Linked DNA regions of Homo sapiens: all the other regions are linked to region 2. Evidence: promoter capture Hi-C in 16 types of primary human blood cells and fetal thymus (Javierre and others, 2016). All regions are on one chromosome and are shown on one strand. The core of a region is centred on a gene start or on the middle of the fragment in contact, and the rest is flanking DNA. Distances in the headings are between cores, read along the strand shown.

The links. Contacts are between HindIII fragments. The CHiCAGO score rates a contact against its expected background, and 5 or more counts as called.
Region 1: a fragment that was not itself captured here is called in contact with the fragment with the promoter of SEC24D in region 2 in 1 of 17 cell types (total CD4 T cells); the score reaches 5.7 in total CD4 T cells.
Region 3: a contact is called between a fragment that was not itself captured here and the fragment with the promoter of SEC24D in region 2, in 1 of 17 cell types (activated CD4 T cells). The highest score is 6.5, in activated CD4 T cells.

Annotation. Positions count from the first base shown.
Region 1 is chr4:121,792,577-121,795,966 of GRCh38, reverse strand. No RefSeq gene overlaps it. Among named protein-coding and RNA genes, the nearest start is that of EXOSC9, 7.1 kb to the left of the region's middle. RefSeq lists an enhancer at 1,179-1,473 and a silencer at 1,179-1,473. The HindIII fragment of the contact is 7,280 bases long and covers 1-3,390 here.
Region 2 is chr4:118,834,727-118,837,684 of GRCh38, reverse strand. It overlaps SEC24D (SEC24 homolog D, COPII component), which reads left to right and starts at 1,559. Exons shown (of 23, transcript NM_014822.4): 1 at 1,559-1,744. RefSeq lists enhancers at 1,397-1,691, 1,312-2,203 and a silencer at 1,396-1,885. The HindIII fragment of the contact is 6,235 bases long and covers 1-2,958 here.
Region 3 is chr4:121,816,844-121,819,934 of GRCh38, reverse strand. It overlaps EXOSC9 (exosome component 9), which reads right to left. Exons shown (of 12, transcript NM_005033.3): 12 at 2,914-3,091. The coding sequence ends at 3,079. It overlaps CCNA2 (cyclin A2), which reads left to right. Exons shown (of 8, transcript NM_001237.5): 5 at 356-563; 6 at 1,022-1,135; 7 at 1,758-1,891; 8 at 2,249-3,091. The coding sequence ends at 2,297. Among named protein-coding and RNA genes, the nearest start is that of CCNA2, 5.5 kb to the left of the region's middle. The HindIII fragment of the contact is 236 bases long and covers 1,683-1,918 here.

The sequences.
Region 1 (3,390 bases), core at 567-3,066, 3.0 Mb before region 2:
AAACTGTTTCTCATGAAAGCAGGATGTTGGCAAACTGACAAACTGCATCTGCCGCCCAGAAGGAATGCTGAGGGGAGTCACAACCCAGGCACAGGTGTTTCTTGTGGTTAGGCACATGTGAAGCCTGTTAGCAATAACGTGAACCTGTGATCAATCAAGCAGCTGACCAATTGTTACCTCCTTCTCCCTGCTCTTTCTACCCGATAAATACGAAGGGCTGCAGAAGCTCAGGGGCTGCTGCCTTTGCTCACTAGAAGCAAGGAGCCCTCTTCTTTTTCCCCTGGTCCCTTCCTTTAAAACAGTTTCTTTTGTTTTAAGTTTTCATTTCTGCATGCGTCCGTTTTCGTTCAGTCTCGTAATGACAGTCTCAAGTAGTGACAGTAGTAAGTCTTGTAATGACAGTCTCAAGTAGTAACAGTAGTAACTGTTGTAGTGACAGTCTCAAATAGTAATGTTTTGTTTTTTGTTTTTTGTTTTTTGTTTTAAGATGGGAGTCTCACTCTGTCACCCAGGCTGGAGTGCAGTGGTGTGATCTCGGCTCACTGCAACCTCCACCTCCTGGCTCAAGCAATTCTCCTGCCTCAGCCTCCCAGGTAGCTGGGACTACAGGCATGTGTCACCAAGCCCAGCTAATTTATTGTATTTTTGGTAGAGATGGGGTTTTGCCATGTTGGCCAGGCTGGTCTCCAACTTCTGACTTCAAATGATCCGCCCACCTCGGCCTCCCAAAGTGTTGGGATTACAGGCATGAGCCACTGTGCCCAGCCCCCTCCAGGTGATTCTTATAAACGTTAAAGTTGGAGAAGCCCTGATCTAAATTTCTAGGAGAGAGATATATATCCAATCTTATCTAGCTCTAGGATTCCCTGTCTGTTTTGTGCAAAATGTGAGGGGAGGTGTCCTCCACTCCCCTGTTCCCATAAGGCAGTGCTAACTGCCTGCTTACAGATTTCCAGAGTTAGGTGGAATTCCTGCTATGTGCTAGGCAGTGTGATTGGTGCCAGCAAAGTTCAATAGGAGGTACTTCCCTACAATGTTTGCTAACTTGCTGTTCACTCACTTTGTGGAAGGAGTGCTTTCAGTGACAATCTAATCTTGAGGCATATTTTAACATCATGATTTTATAAACTCATAGACAATTTTAAGAACAATTTCAGGTTAAGAGAAAAATTGAGCGGAAAGTACACGAAGTCTCCATACACTTTTCCCCCACATACACAACCTCGTCCACCCATCAACAGCCCTCATCAGTGTGGTCCATCTGTTACAGTGAACCAGTATTCGTTATCTGTCTTTTACAGATGCCTATGTTACAAGGTACAGACAGATTGAGTAATCTGTCCAAGTTTGCACAGCTAGTAAGCCACAGAACTAGGATTCATACCCAGACAGCCTGACTCCAGAGACTGTACTCTGTGCTGCTTCTTGTAAATGGGAATTCATTTCTATGGCAAGTGTATTCTCTTCACTCTTAACACCAAACCAGGTTATTGCCTTTCTCTCTGTGAGGATCTTAACTTTCCTCATTTAATTACTTTGCCATCTGATATCCATATAGAGAATAAAGCTGCTATTATTAGATTATCCAAACTCAATTTCTCATGCTTTAACTTGACACACAATTAGAAGTATAATGATGAAGTAGGGCTCATTAATGCAAAGAGACATATGAAGTCTGACTACAATTCCAAAGCTAGCATACAGGCAAGAGTGAGGTTGATATTGAGCTTTTATCACAAGCAATAGGAGGAGTTCTACATGCAAAAGTGGCCCTGGTTCTTGATGGATAGGCTCTTACAGAATACGTTATTTGTACTATGTTGGCCGCTCTCCATTAGCCCAACTCCCAGGGATGCTGTACCCATACCATTGATCAACTCCTTATTCAAATAAATGACTTAAGAGGAAAAGTTTCTATTTTGTATCTCTTCGCTCTTACCCTGCTTGCTTCTTCCTAAAGTTGTCTAACAAGGAAGGCTTAGGCTGTTTCAGAGGCAGCAGCTTCAGCAGAAATGGGAGAACACCAGACGATGCTGACTCTCCCATGAGGTGACCATGGACAGCCTAGGCTGGACTGTGGTATCATGTAGGCACGTTTCTTTTCTTTATCTTTTTTTTTTTAGACATGGGTCTCACTATGTTGCCCAGGTTAGTTTAACTCCTGGCCTCAAGTGATCATCTCAGCTCGGCCTCCTGAGTTACTGGGATTACAGGTGTGAGCTACTGTGCCTGGCTGAAGCGTACATTTCTCTAGCAAGCAATATAATATTATTTTGAGATAGTATTTCAGTGGTAACAGGCCCCTAAGATGGCCCCCAGTGATTCATACCTCCTGATATTTAGGGCCTTATGTGATCCCCTCCCCTTGAATGACTTACTTGTAATCAACAGAATACCTCAACATTAAGGGGATGACACTTCTGTTATTGGATTATAAGAAAATATAACTTCGATCATGCTAGCGGACTCCCTCTCTTGCTGGATTTGATAAAGCAAGTTTCCATGTCAGGGGGCCCACATGACAAGGAACTGAGGGTGTTCTGCAGCCAGTTGCCAGGTAAATATTTGGGACCTAAATCTATATCTCAAAGGGAATTGAAGCCTGACAACAGTCACAGAAGTGAGCTTGTTGAGCTTCCTATGCTGAGCTTTTAGATGAGACTTTAGCCCTCGCTGACATCTTGATTGTAGCTTTAAGAGGGACCCTTAAGCAAACCCTGTTAATGTATGCCTGGGTTCCTGACTCACAGAAACCATGAGATAATAAGTGTATGCTGCTTTAGGCTGCTAAGAAGCAAAAGATGACTAATGCAACTTTGAGCACAAACTCTTCTCAGGTGAGCATTACTTATGAATCTCGTAATTCACTAGACTACTCTCACCTTGATGATAGTATAAATAAAATCCCCATTTGCCTTTTTTTTTTTTCAACATTTGAGGTTATCAAGATGTTGCTAACACCAAGTATGGTGGTGTGCACTTATAATCCCAGCTACTCATGAGGCTGAGGCAAGAGGATTGCTTGAGCCCAGGAGTTCAAGACCAGCTTGGGCAACATGGCAAAACCCTGTCCCCACAAAAAATACAAAAATTGGCCGGGTGTGGTGGCACACACCTATAGTCCCAGTTACTTGGGAGATTGAGGTGGGAGGATCACCTGAGCCTGGGAGGTTGAAGCTGCAGTGAGCCGTGACCATGCCGCTGCATTCCAGCCTGGGTGACGGAGTGAGACCCTTTCTCAAAAAAAAAAAAGTTTGATAATGGGAGTTTCCCTTAATTTTTGTTTCTAGTATTACTAATAAAAATTAGGTTTGTAAGAAGTAAAAATTTATAAGAATTCAGTCATTTATATAAGTATTCTTTGCGAACCTACTATGTGCCAGGCTCTAT
Region 2 (2,958 bases), core at 310-2,809:
AAGCAGGTCATCACATGGTGTGACTGTTTCTGACTTTACTCTCTCCTATCTTTGTATCATAGCTTCACTCGCTCCTTGTAATGTAGCTGTTATATGACAAGTTCTTTCACTGCTTTTACAAGCTGTACTGCTTCAACACCGGCCAAAACTTCCTAAACTTCCACTGAACATTTTCATCACATTGAGAATACAAGAAACAATTTAAAACAAAAATTTCAATGTGGGTTTTCAAACCTGATCAGTGTTGAAGCTGGATGTAGGCCAGATATCTTACCTTAAAATCTTTTTTTCTTTTTCTTGAGACAGGGTCTCACTCTGTTGCCCACGCTGGAACGCAGTGGTGTGATCATAGCTCACTGCCTCCTGGCCTCAAGCAATCCTCCCTGCTTGGCCTCCCAAAGTGCTGGGATAACAGGTGTGAGCCACTGTGCCTTGCCCCATGCCTTAAAAACTTTTAAGAGTGGGATAAATGGACCATATATCTTTACTGCTAAAATGACTTAAAATTCCTGCACAATTCATGTAGCATTTCGGGAGTAGCAACATCCCCATGTACGTTTTTACCTAGGCAGTTCATCAGTAAAGGTATTTGTCAAGTGGCTTTCTTGTAGCCGGGAAGAAAGTGCATGTTAAAAACAACAACACCGGGCTGGTTTTTACTTTGTAAGTTTGAGCAAAGTGGTAGCTATACCAAACCTGGGAGTGGCTGAATGTCTTTCTATTTAGCAGTGAAAGATGATAGGAAACCAGCCAGATGGTCCTGATTTTAGGGTGAGATAGAGAGGTAAGCTCCAGATCTCATATAGGTTGCCTTTATTTCTGAGCTGTTTCTCACAGGACGGTGAGCTAAACGCTGGGTGCTTTTCCATGCAGAGATTCCTGTTTGGGGCTGGGATCAGCCATCCTACTTCACAAACAAGGAATATGCGGAAGAAGGAGTATACACAACGCTAACAACCCCAATATCAATGGAAACCCCACTTCCCACACTTTTCCTTTGGGACATCTCCCCCACCCCCCACTCCTCCCGCGTTACACGTTGCCAGGCTGCTTTGGGCGTTCCTTCCTCTGTAGTGCATTGCACGGGTACGTCATCAAATGTGCGTGTACACGTGCCAGATTCGCCTTTAAACGGTAATCTCCCCTAGGTCCAGATCGTGTACTTTCCCGTATGTAACGGTAGTGCAGTACCTGAACTATTAGTTATTTAAGTAATACGTAATGAATGAAGAGCTGAAACTGCAACCTGTTGATGGAAGAATGAATGAACGCGCTCCCCTCCTTCCTGCGGGGCTGCGCCGAGAAAATACGGTTCTGATTTAGCCACGACGTTAAAGGCTTTGACCTGTAGGGGGAGGGGAAAGAAAAGACGGGAAAAAGAAAACCAAAAAACAAAAAACCGGAAAAAGGGAAAAAGCGAAAAGGGGGAGGTCGCTCGGCCGCTCGCAGGCTCAGCCCGGTGGCCCCGCCCCGCGGCGGCCGGTGGCTGTGCGCGTGCGCAGGCGGGAGCGCGGCGGCTGGTCCAAGCCCGGCGCTGGGGGCGCGCAGCCGAGAAAGGGTTTGACGTGGCAGTTCCCAGCCCAGCTGCAACTCCGAGCGTGAGTCCAGGCTAAGGGGACGCCGGCCGGGGAAGAGGCGCGGCGGGAGAAGCGACCGCAGCGGGAGCCCGGCCACCGAGGGCTGCCGGCACTAGGCGCAGAGCCGCCAGCGCTCGGAAGCCCGCGGGGTGCGGGAGCGGGAACAGGTAAAGCCTCCCACCCGCGGACGCCTTCATGCGGGACAGCCCTGCCCAGGCACAGCGGAGCGGGTTGCGGCGCCCGGCCCGGGGACGCGGCGGGAGGCCGGGTGCTCACCTGAGGCAGTGGCGGCGGGAGGAGAACTCATTCTTTGTTCTTTAGCCTTCTAGTGCAGTTTAATAGTGGGGCCGGCGGGATGGGGGAGCAGGAGGTGGGCGTGGGCATTTTTTACCCGCCCCCACCTTTTGCCTTGGGATGCAGGAACTGCCTTGTTAGGATCCTCAGTGGCCACCATTCGAGTGTCATTGCCAGCGGTTTTCTCATCTCCTTATCAACTTAATTTCCTTTTTTGAAGGAAGGAAATGTTAGAAATATTCATGGTAAAAATGGCAACTATATCTTGAAGCCTCGGGACATCCGAATAGTGAAACTGATCTGGCCAAATACGAACTTGTTCCAGGGTTAGAAGTGCACCTTGGCTAGAGTTGCTGGGTGACAGTGAGCCAGGGGGCCGTTCTGGGGTTGGGGCTCCCCAGATTTTGATCCTAGGCCTGCTTATACCAAGTGGCTTTCTGCCGTGTCGCCGCTTGAAGCTGAGTCAGGTTTCTTTAACTTGGTGCTCTGTGTGAGGAAGTTTGACGTGGCAAACTGGGTTGCGTGAGGAAGCTGATTCCTCTGAGGACCAGTTCAGAGGGAACTGGCTGCTTCCTGTTCTTTGGAGTGACCATCTCAGCCTCTCTTTTCTGTCACTCAGCAACAGGCTGCTACTTAGGTGTGTTCGTGCCGACTTCCTAAGTGCTCTTGGTTGGATGAGCTTGACCAGCGCTCAGGCTGCCACGTCTCTCTCTGCTAAGTGGGAGGAGGAAAAAGGGGTTGTCAGAAACAAAGTGGACCAGAAGGCCTTTGCCTGCCTCTCTCCTCTTTTTCAGTTCTCCCCTTCCCAGGAGAAGGAAATGATCTCATAATATTTTTACATGGTTGCTTTTATTTTGGAAACTTATAGTTTAATATGGAAACAAAATCAAATCACAAATTTTAGGCTTCAAATTTTTAATTTGAAATGTTATTTCTTGAATATAGACAGATTCTAAGTCTTAGCAGGTATCACTGATCTCTTATCTTAAATTGTAGCAAATAAAAGAACAAAAGGAAGAATATGCTTGTATGGGGCAAATAAACTGGAGATAAATTGTAGAATCAGTGGAAATCTGGAAAGGCTTCA
Region 3 (3,091 bases), core at 551-3,050, 3.0 Mb before region 2:
AAAAACTAAATTTAAAAATGAAAACATGAAACATGTTTTCCTAAGACTTGTATTTCCTAAATTTTCAGCTACTTGGTGAACTCTGGCATTGTTCCCATCTCGAGAAGTCTCATGCCTTTCATTTACTTCCTTTGACTGAACTGGGGAAAATATCTCAAAAGTCCTTTATTGATTTGGGCCTTTTAATTAGCAATTAGCTATCCAGTCTCTACTAGAAATGATGATCAAGTGTCTGGAAATGCAGTTGGTGTGGATTTTGGATTCATTCCATATTCTGCTAATGGGATTTCAGAACTGGGATAAGGAAGCTTGCTTCTCTTTTAGGACTGATTACTTAAAACTTTTTTCATTGTAGAAAGTTTGAAGAAATATACCCCCCAGAAGTAGCAGAGTTTGTGTACATTACAGATGATACCTACACCAAGAAACAAGTTCTGAGAATGGAGCATCTAGTTTTGAAAGTCCTTACTTTTGACTTAGCTGCTCCAACAGTAAATCAGTTTCTTACCCAATACTTTCTGCATCAGCAGCCTGCAAACTGCAAAGTTGAAAGTTTAGCAATGGTGAGTTAACTTTCATTTTGTTGAATGGTGATTCTTTGGTAATAATTAGGGGTAAGCCCTAATTCCTTTGTAAAGGAACCTAGTTCCTTTGTACAGCAGTGGTGAAGAGATTTAGTATTCAGAGGGAGATTAATGCTGCAGTATGGAAGAAAGCCTACTGCTGGCAAAAGATAATCTATATCAGGAAAGCACTAGAAGCAGAGGTCTAAGGATGACATCTTGGGGATGGGTAGTCAGAAGAGTTGTTTTTTAAAAGTTAATAAAGGAGGGAAAATACAGGATGAGGATGGAACAAAACACTAAAATGATTGATATGTTTAAAGATGAGGCTGTGAGATATTTTTTCTAGAGTTGCTACAGAGCCGTTATCAAAGGCAGGAAAAAATTAGGTTAGAAGGCAGAGGTTTGACATTTGAATTCTAAACGCTCTTGTGATCATAAAGTATTTTTTATTCCAGTTTTTGGGAGAATTAAGTTTGATAGATGCTGACCCATACCTCAAGTATTTGCCATCAGTTATTGCTGGAGCTGCCTTTCATTTAGCACTCTACACAGTCACGGGACAAAGCTGGGTATGTATTACGGTCTTCACACACCTATCTTGTGACTGAAATGCCTGTGCCAGATTAAATAATAATTGTCCTACAAAACTGAGGGTTGCCTAGATGTTCTTACTTGGAAAAACTTCAAATATATATAGTTGACCTTTGAAAAACACAGGTTTGAACTGTGTGAGTCCACTTACACATGGATTTTTTTCCAATCAAATGTGGACTGAAACTACAGTATTCAGGGGATTCACAACCCATATATATGGAAGGGTGACTGCAGGACTTGAATATGTACAGATTTGGGTATATTTGGGAAGGGTCCTGGAACCAATCCCTCATGTACACTGAGGGATGATTATATACTGTTTAAGGCATGTTACCTGTTGAACAGTGTTTGTTAGGTAGTAAGCTTAGTTGTAACTTGGATTGAAAGGTGAGCTTTTTTAAAAGCATCTGACCTGTTGCTGGCAGGGAAAGTAGTAGAAAATGGATCGAGGGATGGAATAATGGCCTGAGAAAACTAGTAGTTGGAAAAGTTAAAGATTAGTACTGGAATTTAACATAAGCTTAATGCCAACTATTTACTGTGTTTGGTGTGTTACTAAAAGCAAAACTCAGGGGTTCTCTATTCCCTTCTCTGTAGCCTGAATCATTAATACGAAAGACTGGATATACCCTGGAAAGTCTTAAGCCTTGTCTCATGGACCTTCACCAGACCTACCTCAAAGCACCACAGCATGCACAACAGTCAATAAGAGAAAAGTACAAAAATTCAAAGTAAGAATTAACTTGGATATTGAAGCTTACTTTTCTAGATTATGGTTCAGAGATCTTTGACATTTTAACCTTATTCATGAATCTGCCATAGCCTCCTTGAGAAGCTGTTCTCTAAATTGGTTATGTGTTTGAAGAAGGTTGTAGTTCATGCTTTCTGCCCTGGGTCTGGGGGAGAAGAGAGAAGGAAGGGGGCATGCATGTGTGTTTCAGGGACCAGACAGTGTTTCTAAAACCATCAAGTCGGTCAGACAGAAATAGCATTTTTTAGTTCCCAATACATGAGTACAAACATTATTCCATGATCTCCTTTACCCAGTGAGTGTTTACTAAAAATGCTTTTTTTTTCCCTACTTACAGGTATCATGGTGTTTCTCTCCTCAACCCACCAGAGACACTAAATCTGTAACAATGAAAGACTGCCTTTGTTTTCTAAGATGTAAATCACTCAAAGTATATGGTGTACAGTTTTTAACTTAGGTTTTAATTTTACAATCATTTCTGAATACAGAAGTTGTGGCCAAGTACAAATTATGGTATCTATTACTTTTTAAATGGTTTTAATTTGTATATCTTTTGTATATGTATCTGTCTTAGATATTTGGCTAATTTTAAGTGGTTTTGTTAAAGTATTAATGATGCCAGCTGTCAGGATAATAAATTGATTTGGAAAACTTTGCAAGTCAAATTTAACTTCTTCAGGATTTTGCTTAGTAAAGAAGTTTACTTGGTTTACTATATAATGGGAAGTGAAAAGCCTTCCTCTAAAATTAAAGTAGGTTTAGGAAAACAGACCCTCAAATTCTGACATTCATTTTCCTAAGCAACTGGATCAATTTGCTGACTTGGGCATAATCTAATCTAAGCATATCTGAATACAGTATTCAGAGATAGATACAGTAGAGATTCCCCAGACTTTTTCGCTCTTTGTAAAACCTGTTTGTTTAGGTTTTGCGAGGTAAACTCAACAGAGGTTGGGAGTGGAAGAGGGTGGGAAGCTTATATGCAAATTAACAGACGAGAAATGCTCCAGAAGGTTTATTATTTTAAAGCACATTAAAAACAAAAAACTATTTTTAAAATCCTGCTAGATTTTATAATGGATTTGTGAATAAAAAATACCCAGGGTTCTCAGAATGGAATAAATATCCCTTTTAATAGTTATATATACAGATATACAACTGTTAGCTTTAATTGGCAGCT